Linked DNA regions of Homo sapiens: all the other regions are linked to region 1. Evidence: promoter capture Hi-C in 16 types of primary human blood cells and fetal thymus (Javierre and others, 2016). All regions are on one chromosome and are shown on one strand. The core of a region is centred on a gene start or on the middle of the fragment in contact, and the rest is flanking DNA. Distances in the headings are between cores, read along the strand shown.

Region 1 (2,945 bases), core at 289-2,788:
GCTTGCAGTGAGCCGAGATAGCGCCACTGCACTCGGGCCTGGGCGAAAGAGCAAGATTCCGTCTCAAAAAAAGAAAAAAAAAAAAAAAGAAAAGAAAAAGAAATCCCCAGGATGATGGGAGAGGACCCTCCTTACCCACTGCTTTGGTTTCTTGGATGCTCTGTGAAAATCTTCCACGAGGGTCACAATCTCCTTGCTGCTCATTGGACATCGATGCCTGACCCGAGCCTGGATCTCCGGGGGCAGGATGGTCAGGAACTGCTCCATCACCAGAAGCTCCAAAATCTGCTCCTTGGTGTGCAGCTCGGGTTGCAACCACTGACGGCAGAGCTGTCGGAGCTGGGAGAGAGCCTCTTGGGGTCCAGACACCTCTTGATAACAAAAGCGTCTGAAGCTCTGGCGGCAGAGCTCAGGATCTGGGCAGTTTTTTTGCAGAGGAGGGCCCCGTTTCTCTTCTAGTTTGGCTATTATGTGTCTCTCTTGCTTGGAGGAAGCTTCAGTGTTGGAGCTTAAAGTTATCTCCATTTTAGCTGCCATTTTGGGCGTCAGGAGACAACTCTCTCCTTGTAAACGGGTTAAGCCTTTGGGATCATGACCCTGGAGAAGTCTCTGAATACTAGAAAGATTCTAGAAACGAAGGTTCTCTGAGGATGTTAGGGGGAACGGGATGCAGAGACAAAGCCTCACTTGCTAGCCTTTACTAGCCAAACTCAAGACAACGCGGTCCCTGGGAGTGGGAAGAGTTTTGTCTTCTTGTCAGTTTTTTGCAGTCTTGCAAAGGAGAAAAGTCATAACGTCCTAAAAGGACTCTGGGGAAAAAATACTTCTTTTATTTCAGTAGCAAGCACACAGGTCTCGGATTTAATGAGCAATACGCTCTAACCGGCGGGTGGAGCGGAATCCCTAGGAAAAGTTCAAGCTGTCGCAGGTAGCTTGCCCCAACTCTCCCGCATCCTGGCGGAAACCGACCGGGTGCATGTCGCCGGGTGCTAAACGGTAGAGCTAAGCGAGGCCACAGCGCCAGCCGGGGGTGTGAGGTAGCGAACAGCCTCCTGCACGCGAGCAAAGCGGCTGCTCGCTGCCGAGGCGCCGCAGGCCCAGTGGCTCCGGCCTCCAGGGCGGCCCCGCGGCCCAGCCAGCCCCAGGCCTGGCGAAGCTGCCGCAACCCGATGCGCAGCTGAACTCCACGCCCGGTGTGAGCTCGGACTGGCGACTGCGACACCGGTACCCCGAACAGCCCGGCGCCCCGCACCCACCTGCAGCCGACTCACCTCTCCGGGAACCCAAGACCGAGGGACTTAGGACCCGACACCGGCGAGCACGGGCTGGGGGCGGGGCCGATGCCACTCGCTGCGGAGACGCCCACTAGCTGCTGAGGACAACTACTGACAGGGCCCGCCTCCTGCCAAGGGCATTCTCTACCGTCTATTGGTTGCTGCGCCTGTCAATACCGTCGCAGTGCATCCCGGGAGCTGCAGTCCGGCAATTCGGCTTGCGGGCCTGCGCAGGGGCGTGCGTAATGGGCGGAGCGAATCGCGCCGCTGACTTCCGGCCCGGAGGCTGAGGGAGTTTGTGGAGTCGCGAGTGCTGGTGTCCGGTGAGTTCTCCGCTTCCTTGCGGCCGGCGGGATTAGCCGCTGGGCCCTGCGACGGCCGAGGAGCCCCTCCCCGCTGGGAGTCTTCTCCGAGGCGTTCGGGTCCGGCCCCGATGGGCGTCTCCTTGGGACAGGCAGCCTCCCTCAGGCCGGGCGTCCCCAGACGCGCCGCGATCACCGTGCCCCGCTCCCACCGTGCGGATCACCCCGAGCCTGAGCGCCGGCGCCCCGGGACCCCCTGGCCTTGACCCTGCTCATCTCGTCCCTGTCTCGCCCACTCCCTACTCATCCACAGTGCCTAGCCCTGGCACCGAGTGCGTTCTGAGTACTCAATAAATAGTTAACTAAGTGAAAAACCTATCAACCTGGCTCCCCATCCTCATGCTACATTTTTTTCCGAGTGTTTGGGCCATCGCTAGAGTGAAGTAAAATTTTCAGAGAACAGCATTTTAAAATTTAACGATGAGTGGGAGGTAAGGGGTCAAAAGGGGTCAAGAAGGGTGCAGGTTCCGCCTTCTGCATGAAGTTAGAAGAGCTTTTATTAAATTCTTCTTCAGCCAGGTAAGGCACAGGATGAACATAATGAAGGCAAGGGGTGCTGGTTCTAGTCCTGGCCTTGCTGCCTAGGAGCTGTGCTGTGTGATGCTTTAGGCAAGATACTTCATCGCTCTCAGTTTCTTTTTGGCTAGAAAGCAGTGCTAACAATAATAATGCCCTTGATTTCTCTATCTCTAGAAGCACTGAAATGTAAAGAGAATTTAAGTGAAGGCAGTTCAAGTTCCTTGAGAAAAGGGAACCCAAATCCATTTTTAAAATATAAAAAAATTTCTTTAATTTTTAAAAAACATTTACCATCATAACCATTTTTAAGTGTACAGCTCAGTAGTCCTGAGTATATTCATCTTGTTGTGCATGCTGGATCCATTTTAATACCACATGGTGAGGGTGTATCAGCCCCTGGAGAAAATGTAAATTACGATCTGCTTTAATCTGTGTTTTAAGTAGATAAAAACCAACACAAACTCATTAAAAAAGACTGCCTTCGCGGGTGCAGTGGCTCACACCTGTAATCCCAGCACTTTGGGAGGCCAAGGTGGGAGGATCACTTGAGCACAGGAGTTTGAGACCAGCCTGGGCAACATAGTGAAACTCCACCTCTACAAAAAATACAAAAGTTAGCTTCTATTTAAAATTATTTTTAAGGTCGGGCATGGTGGCTTATACTTGTAATCCTAACACTTTGGGAGGTTGAGGTGGGAGGATTGCTTGAGTTCAGGAGTTTGAGACCAGCCTGGGCAACAGAGTGAGACTCCATCTCTAAAGATAAAAAAACAAATAAAATTATTTTTAA
Region 2 (2,945 bases), core at 222-2,721, 250 kb after region 1:
AGTTAAATGGATGGTACTTAACATCCTGTAAAAGATTCGGCTCCTTTTTTCTGTAACGTGAAATTGTGCTCGTCTTCCTTGAAAACAGGTAGAGGTTTCTGATTTAGAGCCTTTTTGGTAACCCTTCGGAAACTCCGCACCTCCACTGGAGTATACCGCATTCTAACTCTTCTGCCCGATAAGGAACACTAAAATTCGGCCTTTCTTTACCCCGGGTGGGACTCGAACCCACAATCCCTGGCTTAGGAGGCCAATGCCTTATCCATTAGGCCACCGGGGCGGATAACAAAACGCTGTCGCTTGTCTTAGACCAGTTTCTCCATCACTCCGCGGTGGTTCCTGCACAGCCTGCCCGTCCTACCCTGGCCTTTCTCCCGCCCCTCCACTGCAATCCAAGCTTCGGTTCAGATCTCGTCCGCTCCTGAGCATCCTCGGGACCCCAAAGAGACGGCGCACGTGCAGAGGGACCTGAAAGACACCGAACGTCAGATTTTTGGCTCCGCTCTTTGGTCTAGGGGTATGATCTTCGCTTAGGGTGCGAGAGGTGCCTGGATCAACTCCTTCACAAGCCGTCGTCTCCACTCAGGAGACAACCCAAGTCTAGGGGTAATTAGTAGCGAATGATGCACTTGCGATGGGTAGAGTGTATGGGAAGGGGCACGCGATGCCAGCTCAGCAACTGGCTCCTCATCCCGAGCCCGCCGCTTCTGGAAGTGTCGGTCTTCGTCCTCCTCCCCCGCATTGTCCGTTAGACCAAGGGTGCCGCCCAGTGGTCGGAAGCCTCTTAATAATGACCCTCCAAAATCCGCCCTCTACATCCCCAGCTGGCTAGGTGTTAATCTCAGGATCGCCACGTTGGGTGTTTACTTTCCTGCCCCAACACGTGTGTTATTTTCCTTTTTTAAAAAATCTGTATTTTAATGACGTTCTTTTCCTTTAATACCTAGTAAACGCTTCAGTCCAGGAGTTCGAGACCATCATGGGCAAAATAGTGAGCGCCCCGTCTCTACCAAAAACAAATACCTTCGTAAACCACTGAAACATCAAAAAAAATTAAAGGAGAAAGTGACACCCTGCACGACGCCAGGTCACCAGCGTCCGCCGACCGGAGGCCATGCCTGCAGCTGCGACTCTCCGCAGCCTTCACCCCGTGGAAGGATACCCCACCCCGTGGAAGGATACCCCAAGAGGCGCTGCTCGGCACCCGGACTAAACTCGGGTTCCGCTGGTAGACATTTTTTTTCCCCTCGGCGAAATATTAACTCAATCCTGGAGATACTCTTTGAATTTTATTTTATTTTATTTTATTTTATTTTATTTTATTTTATTTTATTTTATTTTATTTATTTTCTATTTTGAGACGGAGTCTCGCTCTGTCGCCCAGGCTGGAGTGCAGTGGCGCGATCTTGGCTCACTGCAGCCTCCGGCCTCCCGGGTTCAAGCGATTCTCCTGCCTCAGCCTCCTGAGTAGCTGGGAGTACAGGCGCGCGCCACCACGTCCCGCTAATTTTTGTATTTTTAGTAGAAACGGGGTTTTACCATGTGAGTCAGGCTGGTCTGGAACTCCCGACCTCATGATTCGCCCGCCTCGACCTCCCAAAGTGCTGGGATTAGAGGCGTGAGCCACCGCGCCCGGCTCATCACCACTATAATCGTTTTCTTTTTTACTTTGTTACCCCATGATCAGTTGATACAAAGTTTTTCATCACAATAATCAATTAAACTACACATGTCGCCGGGCGCGGTGGCTCACGCCTGTAAGCCCAGCACTTTGGGAGACCGAGGCTGGACGATCACCTGAGGTCGGGAGTTCGAGACCAGCCTGGCCAACATGGAGAACCCACCCCCGCCCACCCCCCCACCCTACTAAAAATACAAAAATTAGCCGGGCCTGGTGGCGCATGCCTGTAATCCCAGCTACTCGGAAGGCTGAGGCAGGAGAATCGTTTGAACCCGGGAGGCGGAGGTTGCAGTGAGCGGAGATCAAGACATTGCACTCCAGCCTAGGCAACAAGAGCGAAACTCCGTCTCAAAAAAAAAACAAAAACAAAAACAAAAAACTACAGGTGTCCTTTGATCCCTTGGGGCAACTCCTCACAGCAAGCAATCCCAGCCCCGCGTCTGTCACGGTTTCCATCACCTGAACGTTAATTTGTGAAGTCAATCCCCTACCAGATCCCAGGACCTGCGTTCTCTGGCTTCAAGCTCCGCAGTCCGCCAGGGCCCTGCCGGCGTTCTCTAAGTCGCCCTCGCTGCTATTCTGGCCCTGGGTCCTTAGCTTCGCGACTGGAGGCGCAGGGCGAGGTCCCAGTGTTCCTACGGGGGTGAGGGGAGAGCGACCGGCGCACTCAGTTCGAGTGTCGTAGTCGCCCAGGGTGCAGTCCCAGGTGAAGAAATTTTAAGTGGAGCTGGAAGAAAACGTTAACATGGCAACGACCACGAAGGGACTCGAACCCTCAATCTTCTGATCCGGAATCAGACGCCTTATCCATTAGGCCACGCGGCCCTGCGGCTGTATGGCTCCCAGCTATTCTCATAAAGCTTTCTATAGCCTATGCTGTCGCTTTAACGCGCATGCTTAGAGTGAGGGGAGGCCGGTCCTTCCGAGGCTCCCGGTGGGCGGGACTCCGAGCTGGGCCACCGCGCCGGGCCGCTGAGGCTGCTGGGTGGAAACCGCCGCCGCGGGCCCGGGACTGTGAGTTCGAGCCCTGGCGAGCCCGCCCTACCCCACCCTCCCCGCAGCAGGCCCCTCCGAGACGCCGTTTGGGAGCGCTTTCCCCCATGTGCCTCCCGCCGCTTTGGGTCAGGGGCTGCAAGCTGCTTGCCCAGCCCCTGTGCTTGCTCCATCACGGTGAACCTGCAAAGGTGTGTTTCAGAGGCTTTTGGCCCCAGACTTTATTCTGGCCGCCTGGAAAGCGGAGGCCGTGTCTCCTGAGTTTCTATGG
Region 3 (2,945 bases), core at 200-2,699, 190 kb after region 1:
ATGTCCACTAGAGTCATCCTCTGGCTTGTGGTATTAATACGCACACCTCTTCCCCAAAACACACCCTCCTGAAAATGTTAGGCTGGATCCTAACATAACGCAAGTATCCCTTACAAAACTGGAAGCCCCACTCACCCATCTTCAAAAGAGGGACATTCAAAGGTGAAAATTAGTAGATAAAAATATACGTGGAAGAGCAGAGACAAAAGTGTGTGAGATAGACAAAAGACAAACTGAAAAACAGAATCACTTTTTTTTTTTTTGAGACAGAGTCTTACTGTCGCCCAGGCTGTAGTGCAGTAACACAATCTCGACTCACTGCAACCTCCACTTCCCAGGCTCAAGGGATCCTCCCACCGCAGGTTCCTGAGTAGCTGGTATTACAAGAACCCACCACCACGCCCAGATTTTTTTTTGTATTTTTAGTAGAGATGCGGTTTCACCATGTTGGTCAGTCTGGTCTCGAACTCCTGACCTCAGGTGATCCGCCTACCTCGGCCTCCCCAAAGGCTGGGATTACAGGCGCCTACTTCAGCCTCCCCAAGGGCTGGGATTACAGGCGTGAGCCACCATGCCCGGCCTGTAGACTGTTCTTTCTAGGTGTTAGATTACACTCTATTTTTTTTTTATTTTTTTTAATTTTTTTTAGACAGAGTCTCACTCTGTCATCCAGGCTGGAGTGCAGCAGCGTGATCTTGGCTCACTGCAGCCTCCACCTCCCAGGTTCAAGTGATTCTCCTGCCTCAGCCTCCCAAGTAACTGGGACTGCAGGTGCCCACCACCATGCCTGGATAATTTTTTTGTATTTTTAGTAGAGACGGGGTTTCACCGTGTTAGCCAGGATGGTCTCGATCTCCTGACGTCGTGATCCACCAGCCTAGGCCTCCCAAAGTGCTGGGATTACAGGCGTGAGCCACCTTGCCTGCCCTAATTTTTTCTCACATACTGAAAGCTTTGAAAAGGAAGATCTTGATACAGAGGGAAGGAGCCCTTCATCCAAGTCAACTATTTCAGAAAGTCTGAGAGAATGAGCAAACACAAGAAAGCAGAATGAGTAATATTAGTATTAACCAAAGTATGCTTTAAGCAGAAACAAGAATTGAAGAGGACAAAGATCATTCTATTTCTAGAAGGTATTTAATATAATTTATAATGAATGGATAACATTCACCAGCCTCCAGGCCTTCTGTGTTAGTCCGTTTTCGCTGCTATAAAGAAATACCTGACTCTGGGTAATTTATAAAGAAAAGTTTTTTTGGGTCATGATTCTGCAGGCTGTACAAGAAGCATGGTGTGGGCACCTACTTCTGGTGAGGCCTCAGGAAGTTTCCAATCATGGCAGAAGGTGAAGTGGAAACAGGTGTGTCACATGAAGAGAGAGGGAATAAAAGGGAGAAGGGGAAGCTCCCAGGCTCTAACAATCAGAGCTCATGGTAACTTATTACTGTGTGGGGGGAACCAAGCCATTCATGAGGGACCCACCCCCATGACCTAAACACCACCTGCCAGGCGCCACCTCCAACACTGAGAATCACATTTCAACATGAGATTTGGTGGAGACAAACAGCCAAACCACATCACCTCCATAACCAAAGATCAAATCAAAAAGTAAAGCTGACCCGGCATGGTGGCTCATGCCTGTAATTCCAGCACTTTGGGATGCCAAGGTAGGCAGATCACTTGAGGTCAGGAGTTCAAGACCAGCCTGGCCAACATGGTGAAACCCCATCTCTACTAAAAATACAAAAATTAGCCAGGCATGGTGGTGGATGTCTGTAATCCCAGCCACTCAAGAGGTTGAGGCAGGAAAATCACTTGAACCCAGGAGGCAGAGGTTACAGTGAGCTGAGATCGTGCTGCTGCACTCCAGCCTGGGCAACAGACTGAGACTTCATCCCCCCCGCAGAAAAAAAAAGGACGTTAAAAAAAAAAAAGTAAAAGCTTACTGCAATCATTCTGTAAAGAAAAAAAGGTAAAAGCTATTAACATATAGAAAGAAAATAATTGAAATGTTAATTATTAGACTTTGCAAATCAACTAAATAAATAATAAGAAGCAGTCAGAATTCAAACATTATAATCTTCATATAGATCTATTTGGATTATATTTTACAGCTACAGCTATATCATGAGAAAAAAATATATTGAAGTCATTTCCACATAAAAAGATCCCTAGGACCCAGAGGGAATCTCAAAGGAATAAGCCTGGATCTGCTCTGGGTGTTCCTGGGGAAACCTGGTTTGACACAGTGGGACTGGAAGCCCCAGGGCCAGGGAGTGGGTGTCCATCCGGAGGCAGATTTTTTTTTTTTTTTTTGGAGACAGGATCATGCTTTGTTCCCGAGGCTGGAGTGCAGTGGCACGATCGCAGCTCACTGCAGCCTCAACTTCCTGGGCTCAAGTGATCCTCCCACCTCAGCCTCCCAAGTAGCTGGGACCACAGGTATGAGCCACCATGCCCAGTTAATTTTTTAATTTTTTGTAGAGATGGAGTCTCACTATATTGCCCAGGCTGGTCTCAAACTCCTGGGCTCAAATGATCCTCCCACCTTGGACTTTAAAGGTGTTGTGATTACAGGTGGGAGCCACCATACCCGGCCCAGAGTCAGATTTTAGTGGAGAATAACATGAGTTTGAACACAGATGGCTGTGATCTGAACCTTAGGTGGGTCCCAGTGTGGCCCCCAAAGGGATGGGCCACAGGCATCTATGTTGCAGCACACAGGCTGTCAGCTGACCAGGCATCGAAGGGCAGGGACTGCACTGTGTGCCGTAACTCACAGGATCGTGCCAGTGGATGCTTCTAGCTCCCCAGTCTCTCCCTCTCTCCACCTGACTGACTCCTCTGAGTGAACTCCTGGGGTGCTTTTTGACACCCACAGGGAGGTGCTGGACCCCCTGGTAGTAATGGCAGGGTATGGTTAGGCAGAAATTATGAATAACAAA
Region 4 (2,945 bases), core at 255-2,754, 170 kb after region 1:
CCCTGCGGTTCATGCCATTCTCCTGCCTCAGCCTCCCGAGTAGCTGGGACTACAGGTGCCTGCCACCTTGTCCGGCTGATTTTTTGTATTTTTAGTAGAGACAGGGTTTCACCATGTTAGCCAGGATGGTCTCAATCTCCTGACCTTGTGATCTGCCCGCCTTGGCCTCCCAACCTTCTTTTTCTATACTCTGGAAATTTTCCTAGCATTTGAATTATTTAATTTTTAAAAGTTTAGAAGAATTTTCTGTGGAACTGTCTGAGGCTGGTGCTTTTCTTGGGTAGGTGGCTAGTCTTTTTTTGATAATTTCAATTTTCTCTATGGAAATTGGTTTATTTTTGCTTAAATCTTACTAGTTTTTTTCTATTTTTAACTCATTACTTTCTAATTGGTATTTATTAATACCTTCATTCTTTTAAATTTATCCTATTGTTTTTCTAACTTTGAATCAGAGGCTTTATTATTCTCATTTTTCTAAATTAATACATGTTTTTACAGCCATGAGCTCTCTTATGAGCATCACTTTAGGTTATACCATAAATTCTGATATACACTTGTCCTTGGTATTCATGGGGGATTGGTTCCAGGACCCCCACTCAGATACCAAAATCCATGGATGCTCAAATTCATTATATAAAATGGTGTAGCATTTACATATACTCCACACATATCCTACCATATATTTTATTTCTAGATCAATTATAATACCTAATACAAAGTAAATGCTACATAAATAGTTGTTATACTAAATTGTTTAGGGAATGACAAAAAAACTGAATATGTACAGACAAAACCATCCTTTTTTTTTCTCTCAAATATTTTCAATCCTTGGTTGGTTGAATCCTCAGATGCAGAACCTATGAATATGAAGGTCTGTATAATGTTTTCTAGAAAAAATATGCAATTTTAATTTGTTTTTACCCCTTTGACGCAAGGTTGCTGATATAGTTTGGATATTTGTCCCCTCCAAATCTCGTGTTGAAATCCAGTCCCCATGCTGGGCACAGTGGTTCACGGCTGTAATCCCAGCACTTTGGGAGGCAAAGGCGGGTGATACCTGAGGTCAGGAGTTTGAGACCAGCCTGTCCAACATAGCAAAACCCCATCTCTACTAAAAAAAAAATATACAAAAGTTAGCTGGGTGTGGTGGTGCGTGCTTGTAATCCCAGTTACTCTGGAGGCTGAGGTAGGAGAATCACTTGAACCCGGGAGGCAGAGGTTGCAGTGAGCTGAGATCACATCATTGTACTCCAGCCTAGGGGACAGAGCAAGACTCCATCTCAAAAAAAATAATTAAAAAAACAGAAATAATACAAATCTATTAATATTTCTTATATATAAAGGAGAAAAATCATTTGTTTACTTGTATAGTTACTGAAAAGATACTTGACAAAATTGAAGCCTCTCCTTTATAAGAACATTTAACAAAATAGTTAACAGATACTTCCTTATAGGTAGAACAGAGTAATCAGAAAACTTAAAAATAAGAACATTTATTTGTCTTAAGTACTCTCATGGGAAAAAATGAGACCATTCACTAAGGTAGTGGGAAATAAAGTGAATAAACAGAAATCATTGGCTTTCACATATATAAATGGGGTCATTTAGAAGATACAGTGGAAGGCCCCATTAGAATAGAAACATGAAAGTTTAAATACTTAGGAATAAACTCAAGAAATGTGCAAATTTATGAGGAAACTTTAAAACAAGGCTAAAGGACAAGAGTAGATTTCAACGAAAGCAAAAAAAAAAAATACTATGTTTTTGGCTAGGGAGACAATATCATAAAAAGGTCATTTCTCCTCTTGTTGATTTATTAATTTGATGTGTTTTTTTTCAACAATACCAATAGCATTTTTCCCTTGGAACAAGACTGTGATCTCAGAAAGTCCCGAAATAGCCTCAAATACACATGGGAGTTTAGTGTGTGATAAAGTTGGTGTATTCGTCCATTTTCACACTGGTATAAAGAATTGTCCGAGACTTGGTAATTTATAAAGGAAACAGGTTTAATTGACTCACAGTTCAGCATGGCTGGGGAGGCCTCCAGAAACTTAAAATCATGGCAAAGGCAAGAGGAAGCAAGGCATCATCTTCACAAGGCAGCAGGAGGGAGAAGTACGAGTAAAGGGGGAAGAGCCCCTTATAAAACCATCAGATCTCATGAGAACTCACTATCATGAGAATAGCATGGGGGAAGGCCCCCCCGCCCATGACTCAGTTACCTTCACCTGATGTCTCCTTGACATGTGGGATTACAATTTAAGATGAGATTTGGGCGAGGACACAAAGCCTAACCATAAAGGGGGACTTTTTGATAAAAGGTGTTAGGACGACTGACAGCCACTTGATAAATTAGTACCTTACTTTACATACCAAGAAAAAGTCCACATGGATCAAAGATTTTAAATGTTTAAAACAAATATAAAAAGCACATTTAGAAAATATGAGTGATTCCTTTATAACCATGGGATAGGAAGGTTTTTGTAATTAAGACTCAAAAGCCCAGAAGCCTTGAAAGAAAAGATTGACAGATTCAAATACGTACAAAAGGCTGGGGCATGGTGGCTCACGCCTGTAATCCCAGCACTTTGGGAGGCCGAGGCAGGTGGATCACCTGAGGTCAGGAGTTTTGAGACCAGCCTGGCCAACATGGCAAAACCCCATTTTTACTAAAAATACAAAAATTAGCTGGATGTGGTGGGGCATGCCTATAATCCCAGCTACTCGGGAGGCTGAGGAAGGAGAATCACTTGAACCCAGGAGGTGGAGGTTGCAGTGAGCCGAGATCACGCCACTGCACTCCAGCCTGCGTGACAGGAGCAAAAAGAAGTGCAAATTAAGCCTCTAGTGAATTAACATTTTGCGTATTTCATATTTATAGAAATAAAAACACATTGATGGTGAGGTTGTTGAGAAACAGGTATATTGCTGGTGGGCATATA
Region 5 (2,945 bases), core at 291-2,790, 150 kb after region 1:
GAGCACCCCTCCCCATGCCGCTGGCAGCAGCACCCTCAGCCTTGCTACCAGAAGGAGATGTTCCCCTCCAGAGTTGGCACCAGCTAAAGATGGCAGGAGCCAAATTCAAGCTTTTCAACAAGTGCTGTTTTTCCAGAAGAAAATTCAGAAGCAGCTGGAGCATCTGAAGAAGCTGAGAAAATCAGGGGAGGAGCAGCGATCCTATGGGGAGGAGAAGGCAGTGAGCTTTCTGGTAAGGTCAGAGGTGGCTGATGGCCCATCCGTCCCTGGGAGGAAGGTGGGAAGAGTGAGCAGGGGTCCCCGAGATTCTGCTGTGGTTCACAGGGCAGCAGGGATGGCCACCTCCTCTCAGGGGACAGAGGGTAACCAGCAGCCAAGGGTAAGCTCATCCCTGTAGAGGGAGACCACCCCCAGCAGGCAGGGGTCACCTCTGAGGATCCTGTCATGCTTTCTCATACTCACCAGAAGATGGTAGAGAGCAACCTATGCCGGTGACTACTGCAGAAAGATGGGATTGAGGAAAAGGGAGGAGAACGCCACTTTCTTTTTTTGTGACGGAGTCTCGCTCTGTCACCCAGGTTGTAGTGCAGTGGTGTGATCTTGGCTCACTGCAACCTCTGCCTCCCGGGTTCAAGCGATTCTCCTGCCTCAGCCTCCTGAGTAGCTGGGATTATAGGTGAGTGCCACCATGCCTGGCTAATTTTTGTAGTTTTAGTAGAGATGGGGTTTCACCATGTTGGTCAGGCTGTTCTCGAACTCCTGAACTCGTGATCCGCCCGCCTTGGCCTCCCAAAGTACTGGGATTACAGATGTGAGCCACTGCGCCCGGCCAAGAACACTTTTAACTTCATAATTTACTCTCTGTTTTTTTGTTTTGTTTCCAAGATGGAGTCTCGCTCTGTCACCCAGGCTGGAGTACAGTGGCACGATCTTGGCTTGCTCCAACCTCCACCTCCGAGGTTCAAGCAATTCTCCTGCCTCAGCCTCCTTAGTGGCTGGAATTACAGGCGCCTGCCACCGCGCCTGGCTAATTTTTGTATTTTTAGTAGAGACGGGATTTCACCGTGTTGGCCAGGCTGGTCTCAAACTCCTGACCTCAGGTGATCCACCTGCCTCGGCCTCCCAAAGTGCTGGGATTACAGGTGTGAGCCATCGTGCCTGGGCTGGTTTTTTTGTTTTTTAGGGTTTTTTTTTTTTTTTTTTTTTGAGATGGAATCTCACTCCGTCGTCCAGGCTGGGGTGCAGTGGTGCAATCTCGGCTCACTGCAAACCTTCGCCTCCCCAGTTGAAGCAATTCTCCTGCCTCAGCCTCCCGAGTTGCTGGGACTGTAGGCACATGCCACCACTCCTGGCTAATTTTTGTATTTTTAGTAAAGACAGAGTTTCCCCATGTTGGCCAGGCTGGTCTCGAACTCCTGATCTCAAGTGATCTGCCCAACTCAGCCTCCCAAAGTGCTGGGATTACAGACATGAGCCAATGCACCCAGCCCAAATTTCCCCATTTTATAAGACAACATTTATATTGGATTAGGGACCCACCCAATCCCAGTAGGACCACATCTTAACTAATTACATCTGCAAGAACTCTTATCTCCAAATAAGATCACATGCTGAGTACTGGGGGTTAGGGCTTCAACGTGTAAATTTTGGAAGGGACACAGTTAAACCTTAACACCAGGTTTAAGGACATTTTCCCAGAGCTAGCCCCAGCCATGCTCAGTCTTTTCTGGAAGGTTCCAGACAATATCGCCTCCTGCTCTGGAATCTAGGCCTTGAAGAGGCAGCATAAGCCCACCTCTTATCCACCTCCAGGAGGTGGGCTTCTGGGGGTTCCTGGACATCCACGTCCACCCACAGCACAGACCCCCATACCTCCCTGTCCTCTGCTCCCCAGAAACAAACTGAAGCGCTGAAGCAGCGGGTGCAGAGGAAGCTGGAGCAGGTGTACTACTTCCTGGAGCAGCAAGAGCATTTCTTTGTGGCCTCACTGGAGGACGTGGGCCAGATGGTTGGGCAGATCAGGAAGGCATATGACACCCGCGTATCCCAGGACATCGCCCTGCTCGATGCGCTGATTGGGGAACTGGAGGCCAAGGAGTGCCAGTCAGAATGGGAACTTCTGCAGGTGGGTGTGCCTGGGCCCGGCTTTCTTGGGTCCCCTGTGCCTATCAGGATGCCTCAGGCTCCCAGCTCTGCCATCAGCCGTGCTGGAACAAGTGGGTGAAGCCCCTAAGGCCTAGGATAGGACTTGGTCTTGGTGACCCACAGTGCCTCTTGTGCCCAGACCCCTTTGATGAGGTCTCTCAGGAGCCCAGGGTGGCCTGGTATCCAGGGGATCTCTGCCATTTCCCAGAAGGGATCAGCAGGGCTTGAGGGCCGTTCCATTGCAGGCCTCGCCACCTGGGATGCCTGAATTCCCGTGGTTAGAATTAGACTTGAAGAAAGGTGCTCCACTTCCACTGACACCCTAGGGCAGGGAGCCCTGGTAAGTGCAGCGGGGAGCTAAAAGTCCAGGAGCCCAGAAGTAGAGGCCAGGAGTCAGCCCAGCCACTAGGAGCCTGGTAACCGACAGTTTCCTTCTTTTTTCTCCTAGGACATTGGAGACATCTTGCACAGGTACAGCGAGGTCCTGTGGTGTACCCTGGGGTGTCTTGCAGAAAGCATATGGGGGAGACAGTCCCAGAAGGGACCTGGGAGGGAGATGTTCCCAACCCCGGGGTCTGTGATTCCAGACTCCTCCTTTTTTCTGCAGCTTCCCAAAGCCTCTCTGGATTTGATAGGGAGAAGGGCATCTGGTCAGCAGGGAGGCTGGCCGGGTATGGAGCTGCAGACTGGGAAGGGTGAATTCAGCCCATCCTGCTGAAACAAGATGGAGGCTCCCTAAGAAACCTTCCGAGTGCATTGTGTCCCGTGCAGTTCATCTGATGAAAGCTGCCCCTTCAGGC
Region 6 (2,945 bases), core at 284-2,783, 130 kb after region 1:
CCCCGTCCGGGTGGTGGGGGGCCGCCTTTGCCCGGCCGCCCCTTCTGGGAAGTGAGGAGCCCCTTTGCCCAGCCACCACCCCGTCTGGGAGGGGTACCCAACAGCTCATTGAGAAGGGGCCATGATGACAATGGCGGTTTTGTGGAATAGAAAAGGGGGAAAGGTGGGGAAAAGATTGAGAAATCAGATGGTTGCTGTGTCTGTGTAGAAAAAAGTAGACATGGGAGACTTTTCATTTTGTTCTGTACTAAGAAAAATTCTTCTGCCTTGGGATACTGTTGATCTGTGACCTTACCCCCAACCCTGTGCTCTCTGAAACATGTGCTGTGTCCACTCAGGGTTAAATGGATTAAGGGCAGTGCAAGATGTGCTTTGTTAAACAGATGCTTGAAGGCAGCATGCTCGTTAAGAGTCATCACCACTCCCTAATCTCAAGTACCCAAGGACACAAACACTGCAGAAGGCCGCAGGGTCCTCTGCCTAGGAAAACCAGAGACCTTTGTTCACTTGTTTGTCTGCTGACCTTCCCTCCACTGTTGTCCTATGGCCCTGCCAAGTCCCCCTCTGCGAGAAACACCCAAGAATGATCAATAAAAAAATAAAAAATAAAAAAAAAGAAAGATCTTCCTCACTGCGAAATTTAAACAAATTTACAGATATTACACTTCGTGTTTCTTTAAATCATCTGGGCCAGGTGCGGTGGCTCATGGTTGTAATCCCAGCATTTTGGGAGGCCGAGGCGGGTGGATCACTCGAGGTCAGGAGTTCGAGACCAGTCTGGGCAACATGGTGAAAACCCATCTCCACTAAAAATACAAAAAATTAGCCGGGTGTGGTGGCACATGCCTGTAATCCCAGCTACTTGGGAGGCTGAGGCAGGAGAATCACTTGAACCTGGGAGGCAGAGGTTGCAATGAGCCCAGATCACACCATTGCACTCCAGCCTGGGAAACAAGAGCGACATTCCGTCTCAAAAAAAAAAAAAAATATATATATATATATATATATATATATATATATATATGGAGTTTATTTTTTATATATGTCAGGCAGAAGTCTATGTTTTCCAGCTCAACTGTCAACAGTCCCAAAACTATTTATAAGTTGGGCCACCTTTTCCCCTTGGGTTTTAAATACCATCTTTTGCATATACACACGTCTTACGGAATCTTGTTTCCATTTACCTTATATCCATTCTTGTAAAAACATATTACTGTTCTAATTTACTGTATTTTCACAGCTTGTTGTTATATCTGTTACAATACATCTCACACCACTGTATTTTTTTCACAATTTTTTTGGCTATGAATTTTAAAAATCAACTTGTCAAAGCCCATTCTTAAACATCTTGCAGCCTGGTGCGGTGGCTGATGCCTGTAATCCCAGCACTTTGGGAGGGTGAGGTGGGCAGAACAGCCTGGCCAACATGGCGAAACCTCATCTCTACTAAAAATACAAAAATTAGCTGGGCATGGTGGGGCGCACCTGTAATCCCAGCTACTCGGGAGGCTGAGGCAGGAGAATCACTTGAACCTGGGAGGCAGAGGTTGCAGTGACCTGAGATCACGCCACTGCACTCCAGCCTGGGCAACAGTGAGACCCAGTCTGAAAAAAAAAAGAAAGTCTTGTTATGGCTGGGCATGGTGGCTCACACTTGTAATGCCAGCATTTTGAGAGGCCAAGGCAGGAAGATCGCATGAGCTTAGAAGTTTGAGACCAGCTCAGGCAACATAGCAAGATCACATTTTTTTAAAAATGTAAAAAAAAAATCTCGTTACAATTTCAATTGGGTTTGCTTATAATTTGTTGATTAATTTAGGAATGCATGATATATTTGTAATATTAACTCTTCCATCCACGACTGTGGTGTATTTCTTCAATGATCTGGGACTTTTAAAATTCTGTAATCCTATATACTTTTCTTCTTATAGGTCTTGCAAATTTCTTATCATGTCTGGTTATGGGTTTTGCTACTATTGTGCATGGGATTCTTTGTTTCAAATTTTGTTTCCTAATTACTCAGATTAATTTTCCAACACCTACCACCAACTCTTTCAAGGCAGCATGTAGGGGTTAGTGGTAGCAACTCTTCTCTTGGAGCCAGTCTTAGTTGTCTGTATAAAGAAACCATTCCATGTTCCAGGACAGACTTTGCTGCCGTTGGGATGAATGGAGAGCAACATCCCGGTTGTCCGTCATGGGTGACAGCCTTCCTTCAGGTGACTTTGGCCTGTGATTTTCCATCCTGTTTGGGCTTCAAGTTATCCGAAAGGAATCATATTGAAATGGGTGTTTCTGAATTTCCGTGTCCTCATGTTTTTAGTTCTTCACAGCCTGCTTTAAAAATTATTCATTCTTTTTTTTTTCTTTTTGACAGAGTCTCGCTCTGTTGCCCAGGCTGGAGTGCAATGGTGCGATCTCGGCTCACTGCAACCTCCACCTCCCGGCTTCAATCGATCCTCCCGCCTCAGCCTACTTAGTAGCTGGGGTTACAGGCGCACGCTACCATGCCCGGCTAATTTTTGTATTTTTAGTAGAAATGGAGTTTCACCATGTTGGTCAGGCTGGTCTTGAACTCCTGATCTCGTGATCCACCTGCCTCGGCCTCTCAAAGTGCTGGGATTAAAGGCGTGAGCCACCGCGCCCAGCCACATTATTCATTCTTGCTTCTGCCTCTCCCTTTATCTTTCAGATATTAGGTGTAGTCAATAGCACTTAACTTTCTTCCAAATACAGTTAGGTGGACAGAATTCTAGTCCCAGCTCTGCACTGATGTGTAGAACTCAAGTCAGTCAGTTCCCCTGGAAGCCTGTGTCCTCCTCTGTAACATGACGGGGTTGGCTTGATGACTGCTAAGCTACCAGATGCCAAGAGACAGCAAAGCCAAAGGAAAGGCCTTGAGCTCTGCAGACACAGACCTTGAGACTGAATGTTGGCTACCTGAC

Evidence for each region. Contacts are between HindIII fragments. The CHiCAGO score rates a contact against its expected background, and 5 or more counts as called.
Region 2: a contact is called between a fragment that was not itself captured here and the fragment with the promoter of ZSCAN32 in region 1, in 10 of 17 cell types (naive CD8 T cells, megakaryocytes, naive CD4 T cells and 7 more). The highest score is 9.2, in naive CD8 T cells.
Region 3: a contact is called between a fragment that was not itself captured here and the fragment with the promoter of ZSCAN32 in region 1, in 1 of 17 cell types (monocytes). The highest score is 5.2, in monocytes.
Region 4: a contact is called between a fragment that was not itself captured here and the fragment with the promoter of ZSCAN32 in region 1, in 12 of 17 cell types (monocytes, fetal thymus, erythroblasts and 9 more). The highest score is 9.8, in monocytes.
Region 5: a contact is called between a fragment that was not itself captured here and the fragment with the promoter of ZSCAN32 in region 1, in 1 of 17 cell types (monocytes). The highest score is 6.4, in monocytes.
Region 6: a contact is called between a fragment that was not itself captured here and the fragment with the promoter of ZSCAN32 in region 1, in 15 of 17 cell types (naive CD4 T cells, monocytes, M2 macrophages and 12 more). The highest score is 10.3, in naive CD4 T cells.

The regions. Positions count from the first base shown.
Region 1 is chr16:3,399,597-3,402,541 of GRCh38, reverse strand. ZSCAN32 (zinc finger and SCAN domain containing 32) reads left to right here and starts at 1,538. Exons shown (of 7, transcript NM_001284527.2): 1 at 1,538-1,597. ZNF174 (zinc finger protein 174) reads right to left here and starts at 1,327. Exons shown (of 3, transcript NM_003450.3): 1 at 136-1,327. The coding sequence starts at 537. LOC105371059 (a long non-coding RNA gene) reads right to left here. Exons shown (of 4, transcript XR_007064949.1): 4 at 2,873-2,911. RefSeq lists silencers at 981-1,200, 1,751-1,900 and an enhancer at 1,278-1,777. The HindIII fragment of the contact is 4,650 bases long and covers 497-2,945 here.
Region 2 is chr16:3,150,235-3,153,179 of GRCh38, reverse strand. TRR-CCG1-3 (tRNA-Arg (anticodon CCG) 1-3) reads right to left here and starts at 2,506; the gene lies at 2,434-2,506. It overlaps TRR-CCT3-1 (tRNA-Arg (anticodon CCT) 3-1), which reads right to left and starts at 280; the gene lies at 208-280. It also overlaps the pseudogene TRP-AGG6-1. RefSeq lists silencers at 113-252, 2,434-2,783. The HindIII fragment of the contact is 2,144 bases long and covers 400-2,543 here.
Region 3 is chr16:3,208,995-3,211,939 of GRCh38, reverse strand. No RefSeq gene overlaps it. Among named protein-coding and RNA genes, the nearest start is that of TRP-AGG1-1, 18 kb to the right of the region's middle. RefSeq lists a silencer at 1-172. The HindIII fragment of the contact is 989 bases long and covers 955-1,943 here.
Region 4 is chr16:3,226,850-3,229,794 of GRCh38, reverse strand. All of the region lies in intron 4 of ZNF200 (zinc finger protein 200), which reads left to right. Among named protein-coding and RNA genes, the nearest start is that of ZNF200, 6.8 kb to the left of the region's middle. The HindIII fragment of the contact is 5,587 bases long and covers 1-2,945 here.
Region 5 is chr16:3,246,196-3,249,140 of GRCh38, reverse strand. It overlaps MEFV (MEFV innate immunity regulator, pyrin), which reads left to right. Exons shown (of 10, transcript NM_000243.3): 4 at 137-232; 5 at 1,895-2,125; 6 at 2,594-2,616. Among named protein-coding and RNA genes, the nearest start is that of MEFV, 9.0 kb to the left of the region's middle. The HindIII fragment of the contact is 2,855 bases long and covers 113-2,945 here.
Region 6 is chr16:3,268,468-3,271,412 of GRCh38, reverse strand. No RefSeq gene overlaps it. Among named protein-coding and RNA genes, the nearest start is that of LINC00921, 6.2 kb to the right of the region's middle. The HindIII fragment of the contact is 5,663 bases long and covers 1-2,945 here.